Regions from separate parts of the Homo sapiens genome. Here regions 1, 3 and 4 are each linked to region 2. Evidence: promoter capture Hi-C in 16 types of primary human blood cells and fetal thymus (Javierre and others, 2016). All regions are on one chromosome and are shown on one strand. Each heading gives the region's core, a stretch centred on a gene start or on the middle of the fragment in contact. The rest is flanking DNA. Distances are from core to core; before and after follow the strand shown. Region 1 overlaps PAX5 (paired box 5). Region 2 holds the start of POLR1E (RNA polymerase I subunit E). Region 3 has its middle 41 kb from the start of ZCCHC7. Region 4 overlaps EXOSC3 (exosome component 3).

Region 1 (2,700 bases), core at 87-2,586, 460 kb after region 2:
GTAGCGGTTTCTGAGTTCAGCTTCTGCTTAGGAGCCGGCCAGTTCATACAGAGACCCTTAAAGACCCCATTGGGTCCTTCTCTGCAGGACGCCTTTTCTCATGGCTTCTCCCCTTTAAAAAAAGAGGATAAGAAACGAAAAAGAAAGAAAGAAAGAGGAAGCCAATTAGTTACCACGCAGGCACCCCCGCCTCTGAAAGACGCAGCGTGTGTAGGAGACGGGAAGGGTCATTTAGGGCGAGGGCAAGGCCGGCCTGGCTGCCTGGCCCGCAGGGATCCTGCCAATTCACCCATTACCACAGCCTCCTGTGAGATGAGCGCTCCTCTCACGGTGAGTTAACGCCGGATTAGATTCGGAGATTTCAAGGAAATTCCAAGTGGAACGAATCGCGTTTCCTTTCTGTTTGCTGCAGAGCCAGGCTGGAGGAAGGTGACAGGCTTCGGCAGCCTCGGCTCGGGTGCCGCTCGGGGTCTCTGCGGGCTTCAGGTCAGGGAGTTGCTCCCGGGCTAGGAGCCGTCCCCATGCCTGGTCCTCCCACCCCGCTCCCCCCCATCCCAACAGCCTGGGATCCAGCTTTCCTAGCCGCAGGTCCCCTATTTAACAAAGGCAGCAGAGACCCGGCTGGAGTGAAGGTGAGCTTCCCGGGGCGAGCATGTCCGTGTCTGCCACGCAGTGCTGAGTGGCCTGGCAAGCAGGGGAAAGCTTGTGTAGGCAGCCAGGGCTGGCTGCGGGCAGGTCAGTTTCTCTTTGTGTCAATTTTCTGAGTCTGAAGTAATCCACCAAAGCGGTGGGGAGCTCTGTGCAGAGGAGCCCCCTGTTCTGGTCCCAGCCCAAACGATTCCTCAAGGTTTGGGGCCTGCGCCCAACCGGTTTCCAGTCTGTGGTGACCCCAGTGCCCTCCACAGCCTTTTCTGCCTCGGACTCCAGCCTGGCTCTGGGGAGGACCTGATCTTGCAATGTAAGCCCAAAACAAACCAGTTAGGGCAATGCTCTGAGAGGTGAGCAAGCCCTTGGCTCAGCCAAGGAGCAACTGTGGGGACAGATGGGGAGCACCAGCCCCTGCACTTCTCTCCTCACTGGTGGAAATCCACAGGCCCTCACTGTGTCCTTCCGCCCAGCGCTCGGTGGCCCAGAGGTTGTGCCCTAGCCCTTGGGGAGATAGCATCAGACCTGGTGGTCTCTCGGCTGAGCATCAGTGTGGAGAAGGCGGCTTCTTTCAGGTGCAGGTTAGCCAACCGCTAATGTCTGTGCCTCCTTGTCCGGCCTTCAATCGCCCCCTCCGTGGGAAGTGCTCCCTCCCATTTTCAATCTCCCTGGCAGCACAGTGGGGGCTGGGCCCCAGCCAGTCTAGCTTCCAGAGCAGGTGCAAGACCTTGGCTTCTCTGGAAGCACTCTCGGTTCTGAGGCCCAAAGCTGTTTTCTTGCACAATGTAGGCCTGCTCTGGGGCCCCAACTTGCTAGCAATGGGGAGTGGGGGGTACAGTAGATCCTGGAAGGTGGCTGAGGTAGTAGAGGCTCAGATCAAGTCCCACTTCGTCACCTTCCTCCTGGCCCAGTCAGTTTCTTCTTCCTGTTACCGCTCCCTGCCTCCGTCCCCCTACCACTGCTTCCCCCCACCACTGCTTCAGAGCCGGATAGCTTCTTTGGAGAGGAGCAGGGACTTCCAGGAAATGGGCTTCTGAGTTTGGAGGAGTCCCCACCCACTATTCCAGGCTCATCATTTTCATCAGCACGATAACCTCCTGCTCTCTTCCTGAGCGGTTCCCCTAGGTATCTTTACCAGTTATAAAACACTCATAGCCAGGGTCCTACCTGACGGTGGCCTAAACCTTCAGCTTCACCCATTTTGCAGAATATGATATTGAGGTCAGAGAGACAAAAGGACTGACTCAAGAAGTTCACATTGGCACAGCTGGAGCTGGTTCTTGGGTCTCCCTGACCATCTGACAAAGGCATTAAAATGAAGCTTCAGAGGGTTCACAGAAGGGGAGAGGGAGGGACTCAGATTCCAGAGAGAGGGCAGTGGGTATACACATATGCAAAGCTCTCTCTCTGTCTAGTCTAACCATGTATATGTCTACTGCCTGACTCTCCACATGTATCAATACCATTAGGGAGACTTCTTCCCTGCCCTTTCCCTGTGCCCCTGTTTGCCTGTCTGTGTACCCCTTCATTCTTTCTGGTGCATCTAGGAAAAATTTTAATGATCTTGTGGGGGTCCTGGAGCTCAATCTGTGGCTGAGTCAGCAAAGTCCCTTTCCCCAAAATCCTATGCTCAGCCATGGTCTTTGGGGGTATTGGGAGGGCCTGTGGTGGGTAGCATGACCTTATCAGGGCCTGAGGAGCATCTGTGGAGGCCAGCCCTTTCCATACCAGAGTCACAAAGGCCTCAGGGGCCTCTGCAATTCAGTCTTTCTCTCCTCACTCCCCTCCAAACACTGCCCAGTCTGCCCTGTCCTGTGGTCTGTCTTTTTCTTGTATCTGTGGGTCTGTTTCCTGGTCTTCACCTGATTTGTTTGCCTCTGTCTCTGTGTCAGTCCCCCTTTCACGGGATGAGTCCTCACCTAACTGGAGTCCATAGGAAGTACAGGCTGGGACTTGGGTTCTCCAAGAAGATGCAGGGCCAGAGCTGGCACCCCAGAAAACAAAGGTCCTCTGTCTAGAGAAGTCCCCTGTCCTCCAGAAGCCCCTTCCTGGGCT
Region 2 (2,700 bases), core at 186-2,685:
AGCCTTCAAGGCTCAGCTCCAACATGACCTCACCAAGGAAGGCATTCTGGCAGAGACCTCTCCTCCCACTGAGCTCACTCTGCCCTGTACTCTTCCCCACGTGGCCTCAGAGCTTTGTGTAAAAGTGTCCCTCACAGCCAGTTCTCATCTCTCTAGAGCAGAGGTTCTCAATCCAGGGAAATCCACTCTGGTGCTACTGGCATCTAATGAGTAGAGACTAGGGATGCTGCCCCCACAGCAAAGAATTATTGGCCCAAAAAGTCAATAGTCCTGAGGTTGAGAAACCCTGCTCTAGAGTATGAACTCTGAGTGGGGCTAGGCCTGATTTGGCTGTTTTCCTAGAAGCTTGCAGCACAGGGATGCAGAGGGGCAGGTTCCATAAATGCTTGTTGAAAGAACAAATGAATGAAAGATGGAGCCTGTCCCCACATCCCAGGCTGCTGGGCATCAGAGTTCTTCAAAGCTCCATTTGCTACTACTCCCCTTTTTCTCCCCTCACTCCCTCCCACATCCACCCACTCCCAGGGGCCTTCTGAGCCCTGCAGAGTGGAGACAGCTGGCAACTGCTTCACTTACCAGGATCCGTTGATTCCTCTTCCTGGGGTTGGTGGAATCTTTGTTCTCATACAAGGTAAAGCGCATGTTGCCTGGACTCTGTAGCTTCCCGTTGGAGAACTGGACTGTAAGAGTGCAGCCCAAGAATGAGATGAGAGCAGAAGGCCACACAATGTACCACACAATGTACGGTGGGACTAGACTGTCACTGGGAGGGAGTGTCAGAATGGGGATGGCAAGGAAGCTCGGGTCCTGACCCAAAGGGAACTGGAGGAGATCCGGGGCCAGCTGAGAAGAGGAGGTAGGGAGGTGGGAGAACCCTGGGGAGGGGCTGTGACAGGAGGGAATGTCTCGCGGAAGGAGGCTGACAGCAGAGGCCTGGTACATACCTAAAGTGACAGAAGGAACCCCTGCCCAGTGAAGAGAGGGAAATGGGGGAGGCGGGAGACCTGGTGGGTGAGGGGGTCAGCAGGGTCCTGGACACAGCTCTGGGGAGCGGGTGAGTGGGATGTCCCAATCTGGCTGGGAGGTAGTGACAGAAAGACGGACAGGGGAGCCCTGACAGAGCCCAGGGGAGTGGTGGAGACTAGAGGGGTCCCGGCCCCGCTGGGGAGAAGCCCAACGGAGGGCGAGAGGACAGCTGAGGTACCGAGACGGAAGGGGAGAGGGTTAGAGGAGCACTGCTCCAGCTCCGCAGTCTTTACCCAGTACAGCTCTCTGGCTCCCGTCGGGCGCCCCACAATACTGCCACCTCGCACTCGGCAACACCTCCGCCGCCATCTCGCCTGTCTGTCCGCCAAGCACAGGAGTTAAGACAGCAGCAGCCACAAGCGCACTTTTAAACACGCGGGAGCCCAGGCCGCGCTGCGGGCCGGAAAAGGCGTGGCCCCGCCGGGCACCGCCCACAGCGCGCGAGCCGCGTGTCCCCGCCCCCCGCGTAGAGAGGCGTGGTCTCCGCCCACAAGGTGCCACACACCCGCTTGACTGGCCGAGGCGCAGCACCTGATTGGCTCAGCGCTCGCGTGCACTCTGGGTTTTGTAGGTCCAGAGCCCGAGGCGCCAAAGGCTTCAGCCTAAGCTTGCTATGAGCCTTCTTCCGGCTCAGCACCTTCTAAAGAGAGTGTCGTCTCTCTCTCCTACCGTGACAAACTCATCTTCCCAAGACCTGAAGGACCAAGTTCAAATTTAGAATTCTCTGACAGGAACTGCTTGAGCCCCAACTAAATGTGGCCGCTGGCGAATAGCCGCCCCTCTCTAGGGCTTCCCACCCACCCACGTGGACATCCAGCTCTAGGTACAAACTTTGTCCACAGTCCGACAAACAGCTCCCCGCCATGGGCTGTGGCGTGCACACCTGTGGCCCAATCAACACTGAGGTGATGGAACAGAAGCCCAGCCAACCCCGGAGCCTTTGGGCAGGAGATTCTGGACTGGAATAGAAGAGGGAGTCCGAGCTGATGGACATGTCCCTTTTTCACTGCGGATTCAACCCTTCTTCTGCACGGGGAGTTTTCAGAGCAGAAAGAAGGCGAAAGCAGGGCCTTTAAGCATGGACGCTGGCCGAGGCCCCCTTTGCCCAAAGATGCGTACTATTGAAGGGCAAGAACTCCGGTTGACTCCCCTCTGTCTTCCAAATCACCTTCTTTCAAGACTCTTTTCCTTCCACACACCCTCAACACCCGCCTCCAACACCCAGGATCCTAGGAATAACCCTAAAGCCTGCATGCCCCTTTGCCTGAGCACTTGTCACGCTTTTCTAATTACCCAATCTCAAACGTAAAGAAACACTGCAAGAAATGTTTTTGCCCTGAACCATTTAGAGTAAGTTGTCAACCTGATACCCTTTCAACCCTGAAGACTATAGTATTTCCTACAGACATTCCCTAAATAACAACACAGCCATCAGAATCAGCAAATTGCCGGGCGCAGTGGTTCACGCCTGCAATCCCAGCACTTTGGGAGGGAGAGGCAGTTCTATCCCTTGATTCCAGGAGTTTGAGACCAGGCTGGGCAACATAACAAGACCCTGTCTCTACAAAAAATAATATTAGCCATGTGTGGTGGCGCACGCGTGTCGTCCCAGCTACTCGGGAGGCTGAGGTGGGAGGATTGCTTGAGCCTAGGAGGCAGAGGCTGCAGTGAGCT
Region 3 (2,700 bases), core at 159-2,658, 410 kb after region 2:
ACCCAGGCCTCCTGATTCCCAGCCACAGCTTTTCCACCGAACCGGCAGCTCTTCCCAAAAGTTGAAGGCAACTGTCCGCTCACCGTCCAAGACTACTCGTTTTACATGAGGAAAGGGTCACAGCTCCCGAAATTTTGGATTCCACGGCGGCAGCTGCTGCTTCTGACAGCAGAGGCGGGAGGTGGCCCAGGACTACTCGGTCCTCAAAGACTGGACTCTCTCTCGGCGCGCCCGGACCTCCGCGCTTCACTGACTGGCTTCCCTAGAAGACTGGGGGCCTTGCGGGGAGATAAAAAGGGCAGACACGCCACCCCCACCGAGGCCCTGGACGCCCAGCCGCCCTAGAATCACGACCTTAGCCCTTGGAAAGCCAGGGAGATGCGGACCCCCTAGACCCGCAGCCCGGCCGCGTGGGGCGGCGCGCAGCTGAGGGACCAGGAGCTGCGCCCCACCACAAGTGAGGGGCGGACCGGAGACGCCGAGGTCGGCGAGGGGGCACGCGCTAGTTCCACAGCTCGGCTGGCGAGACGGAGGGTAGGCAGGGGTCCCAGGCCGCGGGTGACTCGGGGTCCGTCACATACATACTCACTGCCGTAGCTGCAAACAGAAAGCACCAAACAGGGACCAAAACGCGTAGAGGGACGGGGAGGGGCGAGGACAAATGAGGTAAGGAGGCCGCGTCCGCGCAGACCCGGGAGGAGAGAAGGCACTTCCGGGACAACACAGCCCTAGGCGTCGCCTTCTGTGTCCGCCCACCTGTCGCGCCTGGTATGCGCATGCGTACTAAGTGCGAACCTTTCTCTGCCCCGCCCATAATCTTTAGATTTGCCTTCCATGCTTTGCCCCTTCCCCTTCCCATCTTCTCTTGAAGTTACCTAGATTGCGTCTATTATTTGAATGACTCGTACAAAAGAGATGCTATTTATCGGGCAAAAGCCGGGAGTTCGTGCCCTCTACGCCCGCAAGGAAAACTACAACTCCCATGAGGACACGGGTGAGATTGAGGCCGGGCTCCGCCTCCTTCTCCCTGGAGCTTGGTGGACGCCTTCCCAGTGCCACGTGGCGGGGAGCTGATCTGATCGCGGGCGTGACGACGGCCCGCACGGCTAGCTGCTTGGCCCGCGGGCCTGGGCAGCCCTGGAGCGGGAAACGCCTCCGTGAGAACGCATGGCTTCAAGCTTCTCCCTTGCGCTCCTGATCTTAGGCTGATCGCTTTTACCTTTAGGTTGAAGTTGAACACAGTTCACACTGTGCTCTTCCTCCCCCTCTTTCTGGAATTCCAGGCAACAGATTTAACACTTTATGAATCTTGAAGAGCTGCACTCCTCCTAAATATTGCAGTTAATGCTGATCCTTTGGAAGCCTCCGAAGGCCACAAGGCTGTGATGGGAGCCTCTGGCTTCAGTTGCCTTTCTCACACCTTATTTTAATACTCAAGGTAAACCCTTCTGTACAACTTTAGAAATAACTGTCAACCTAAAGGAAAAACGGAGGCAAAGTTAATATAAATAGAGAATTTATTTGGGCCAAGTCTCAAGAATGCAAACTGGGAGCATCACTTCAAGTTACCCTTAATTTAATACATGATCTTAGCAGCAGTTTCAAGTGAGTTCTTTGTTTTGTTGGCCAGGAAGCTTGAACTCTTGTCTCAAAGGAATTGATCCTTCCATCTCTGCCTCCCAAAGTACTGGGATTACAGGTGTGGGCGACTGCACCCGGCTACAAGTGAATTTTTAAAGGAAAAAAAAAGAAGAGGCCCTTGCTAAATTGTATTCCAAGAATTTACATTAAAATAACAACCTATCCATTGGCTATACTTGTTCTTTCTATCACGGATTCTGGGAACACGAAGATAAAGGGTGATGCTTGTACAGGGCAGAAAAGAACAAAGTGCCTTTAAACAATTGCTAGTGTACATGGGGATGGTGCTAACTGACATCTCATACTCAGGTCTCTCTGGGTCTGATAAATTTTGAATGCCTGGCCGGGCTGGTGGGGTTGCTCACACTCGTAATCTCAGCATTTTGGGAGCCTAAGGGGGAAGGATCTCTTAAGGCCAAGAATTCGAAACCAGCCTCGGTAATATACCAACAGGCTATCTCTTAAAAAATTTTAAAAATTAGCCAGGCACGGTGATGCATCATGCAACCGTGCTCCATCCTGGGTGACAGACTGAGATCCTGTCTCAAAAAATAAGATAAAGAATAAATCTCCTTTTTATAAAATCTTTTTATAAAAATTAAATAAAAATTAAAATTTTTAAATAATTCAAATTTTAAATATTAGCTAGGTGTGATGGGGCACGCCTGTAGCTCTAGTTACTCAGGAGGCTGGGGCGGGAGGATTGCTTGAGCCTGGAAGTTCAAGGTCACTGTGAGCTGTGATTACACCACTGCACTCCAGCCTGGATAAGAGACCCCATAACTTTAATTAAAAAAAAATGGGGGACTGGGCACGGTGGCTCATGGCTGTAATCCCAGCACTTTGGGAGGGTGAGGTGGGAGGATCACTTGAGTCCAGGAGTTCAAGACCAGCCTGGGCAACATAGTGAGACCCCATCTCTATTTCTTAAATTAGTAAATACAAATACAAATAAATTGTTTTGTTCTGTGAGTTACCAGGAATGTAAAAAAGATTAAAATAAAATAAATTGTTGCATACTTTTAATATAGCGTAGACTGCTCTATTTTTCTCCTGTCA
Region 4 (2,700 bases), core at 185-2,684, 300 kb before region 2:
ACAGGTAAGAATTTCATATAGAAAAAATTGTCTATGGAATGGGCTTCCTTGGTTGTAAGGATTCCTTTGCCACTGGACTTATGCCACAAAGCTAGAGACTTACTGGTTGGGGTGCCTAAGAGATAATGGAGTTTGGACTCAATTAACAGACTACCAGAAGCTGCACACCCGGCACTTTATGAAGTGATTTTCTTTTACCGAAAGTGGCATTTGATCAGATTTCTCTTTAATGACAATAAAGTAACCACAAAGGACTTGCTGAAGGTATCTTCCAATGGTATCTTGTCATTTATGGCTGTTTTTTCATTCTGTTTCTTTTTGTAGTATGTTCCAGTAAAAGGAGACCATGTGATTGGCATAGTGACAGCTAAATCTGGAGATATATTCAAAGTTGATGTTGGAGGGAGTGAGCCAGCTTCTTTGTCTTACTTGTCATTTGAAGGTGCAACTAAAAGAAACAGACCAAATGTGCAGGTAATTACGGGAGCCTTTGGTTTCAAAGAAACAAACATCCATTCCCTAGAACACTCACATATCCAGAAGGCTATCTGAATTGTCTCCAAAGCATGACCTAGATCTCTGAGCTTGTATATAATTGCCCCAGGCTCCAAGAGTTTCTTCAGATGCTCCAGGATCAGAGCCACATAATTATTATTATTATTTTTTACATTTACAATTTATTTTACATTGGCTACATTTGTTCTTGGGATGTTTCATTTCTACTGAGTTGAAAGGTTGTATCTATCATCGCCATTATTTGTTATGTCCATATCCTCTGGACAAGGATGTCTGCTGTAGGCTTAGAGGAGGGACAGGTGGTGCAAATTGACATTATCAGCTATCCATCCATCCTGGCTGTAGGTCCTAGGAGCTGATAGAGGAGTAATATTGTTACCTTGGGTTTTCAATTTGAGCTTTTCAGGTAGCATAGCCACACTCTTCTTGTCTATCCAGCCTGAAATTTAGTGATTTCTTCACCTCTTCTCATTCACTTCTCATGCAAATTTAGTTGCTTAATCCTATTTTGATCCTATTTGATTCTGTCTCTGATCTTTGGCATGTCCGTCCCTTTATCTCCACAAGTTCAGGCTTCAGCTCCCTCTTGACTGGTCTCAGTCACTTCTTCATTAATCCCTGCCTCCACGCTTTTACCTCACCATCCAGGATTTTGAGAGCTGACATCCTCACACGGTCACTTTCTCGAAAAGACAAGATTCTCCAAAATCTACAGAATTCCTTGGCATTACACTCCAGGTGTCTTTCCTCATCCCTAATTATATCCTTCATACAGCCATACTCAAATCACACCAAACGCCATTAAACTCAATTTCCTGCCCTTATTTGCACATGCTGTTCCCACTGTCTTGATTGCACTATCCCTTCGCACCCTATGGAACACATTCTCATTCTTTGAGACGTAGGCTAAACATGACCACCTCTGTAAAGCCATCTCTAGTTGCCACTTTTCTCGTATCTTTGCTCTAGCACTTACTGGATTGAGCCTTGACTGAGGTTTGTTTATATGTACCTCCCCACTGCCCTCCAAGACCAAATGCTTCTGAAAAGCAGAGAATGTTTTGTTCCTTTCTAGTTTACATAGTCACCAACAAACAGTAGGTACTTAATACGTTTTGTTGAGTGAACAGAATGAGTTCACTCTCCATTTCCTCAGTTTCGTCCCTTTGAAGTTTAGCTCTATGAGGTTTTTAAGTAAATCCTGCAGGGAGAAGTGTCAGTGAATTATTGTTTGATTTTGCTTTGAATAATTTGCATGCCGGAGTTCCTTCCTTTCTCTGTAAATCTGTAATTCTCTAGGGTAGTGCGACCTAATATAACTTTCTACAGTGATGCTGTTTTGTATCTGCACTGATTAGTATGGTAGCCACTAGCTGTTGAGCACTTGAAATGTGGCTAATGCAACTCAGGAAATTAATTTTAAATACCTAATTTTAATTTAAATGTAAGTTTAAACAATTGGCTATCTACCATATTGGACAGTGCAATCCTAGTGTTCTCTGGCCTTGAGATGGCTCCTCGTCTGTGATTTCCTGATTGGTGAAAGGGAATGATACATGTGTTCCTTTTTTTCCCCAAGACTCAACTCCAAAGTGACTGTGGGAATCCTATAGTGCAGTCAGTCCCTTAGCCACAGAACTGTAGGTGGCTGGCATTGATGCCTGTGAGAAAGAACCAATAGTAGCACCTGTAGTTTGCTGAGAGGAAATGAACTGGTTTTTAATATCATTGTAGGTTGGAGATCTCATCTATGGCCAGTTTGTGGTTGCTAATAAAGACATGGAACCAGAGATGGTCTGTATTGACAGCTGTGGACGAGCCAATGGAATGGGTGTCATTGGACAGGATGGTCTGCTTTTTAAAGTGACTCTGGGCTTAATTAGAAAGTAAGTCCTGATGTCTGCTGGCTTGACTGCTTTTTATAATTATACATTCTTGGAAAGTTGGTTAATCTTCAGGATTCAGATTCTTTGTAACGTTTGAATTTCTCCTCAGAGTTAGAAATCAGTATCCATTTTAACACATTTGGAAACTCATGAATTTAATCCTATCTTCTTGGAAACATATCAAATTCAGATGTGTTTGGCTGTGTAGTTTCTGGTGGGCTGATACTTCATGCCTTAAGCTCTTACTCTGTATTCATATCTTCCTTCCCAGGCCTGTTGCTTATTTGACTTAGCCCAA

What was found. Contacts are between HindIII fragments. The CHiCAGO score rates a contact against its expected background, and 5 or more counts as called.
Region 1: a contact is called between a fragment that was not itself captured here and the fragment with the promoter of POLR1E in region 2, in 1 of 17 cell types (naive CD8 T cells). The highest score is 5.1, in naive CD8 T cells.
Region 3: a fragment that was not itself captured here is called in contact with the fragment with the promoter of POLR1E in region 2 in 2 of 17 cell types (fetal thymus and activated CD4 T cells); the score reaches 8.8 in fetal thymus.
Region 4: a contact is called between a fragment that was not itself captured here and the fragment with the promoter of POLR1E in region 2, in 1 of 17 cell types (erythroblasts). The highest score is 5.6, in erythroblasts.

Annotation. Positions count from the first base shown.
Region 1 is chr9:37,023,274-37,025,973 of GRCh38, reverse strand. The region is part of intron 1 of PAX5 (paired box 5); the gene reads left to right. Among named protein-coding and RNA genes, the nearest start is that of PAX5, 9.6 kb to the left of the region's middle. RefSeq lists an enhancer at 917-1,186. The HindIII fragment of the contact is 1,264 bases long and covers 705-1,968 here.
Region 2 is chr9:37,484,683-37,487,382 of GRCh38, reverse strand. It overlaps POLR1E (RNA polymerase I subunit E), which reads right to left and starts at 1,435. Exons shown (of 12, transcript NM_022490.4): 1 at 1,260-1,435; 2 at 577-680. The coding sequence starts at 1,335. RefSeq lists a silencer at 1,308-1,637 and an enhancer at 1,379-1,970. The HindIII fragment of the contact is 1,288 bases long and covers 348-1,635 here.
Region 3 is chr9:37,077,920-37,080,619 of GRCh38, reverse strand. It overlaps the pseudogene EBLN3P. Among named protein-coding and RNA genes, the nearest start is that of ZCCHC7, 41 kb to the left of the region's middle. RefSeq lists an enhancer at 540-1,019. The HindIII fragment of the contact is 456 bases long and covers 1,181-1,636 here.
Region 4 is chr9:37,781,688-37,784,387 of GRCh38, reverse strand. It overlaps EXOSC3 (exosome component 3), which reads left to right. Exons shown (of 4, transcript NM_016042.4): 2 at 325-474; 3 at 2,251-2,402. Among named protein-coding and RNA genes, the nearest start is that of EXOSC3, 2.0 kb to the left of the region's middle. The HindIII fragment of the contact is 4,430 bases long and covers 1-2,700 here.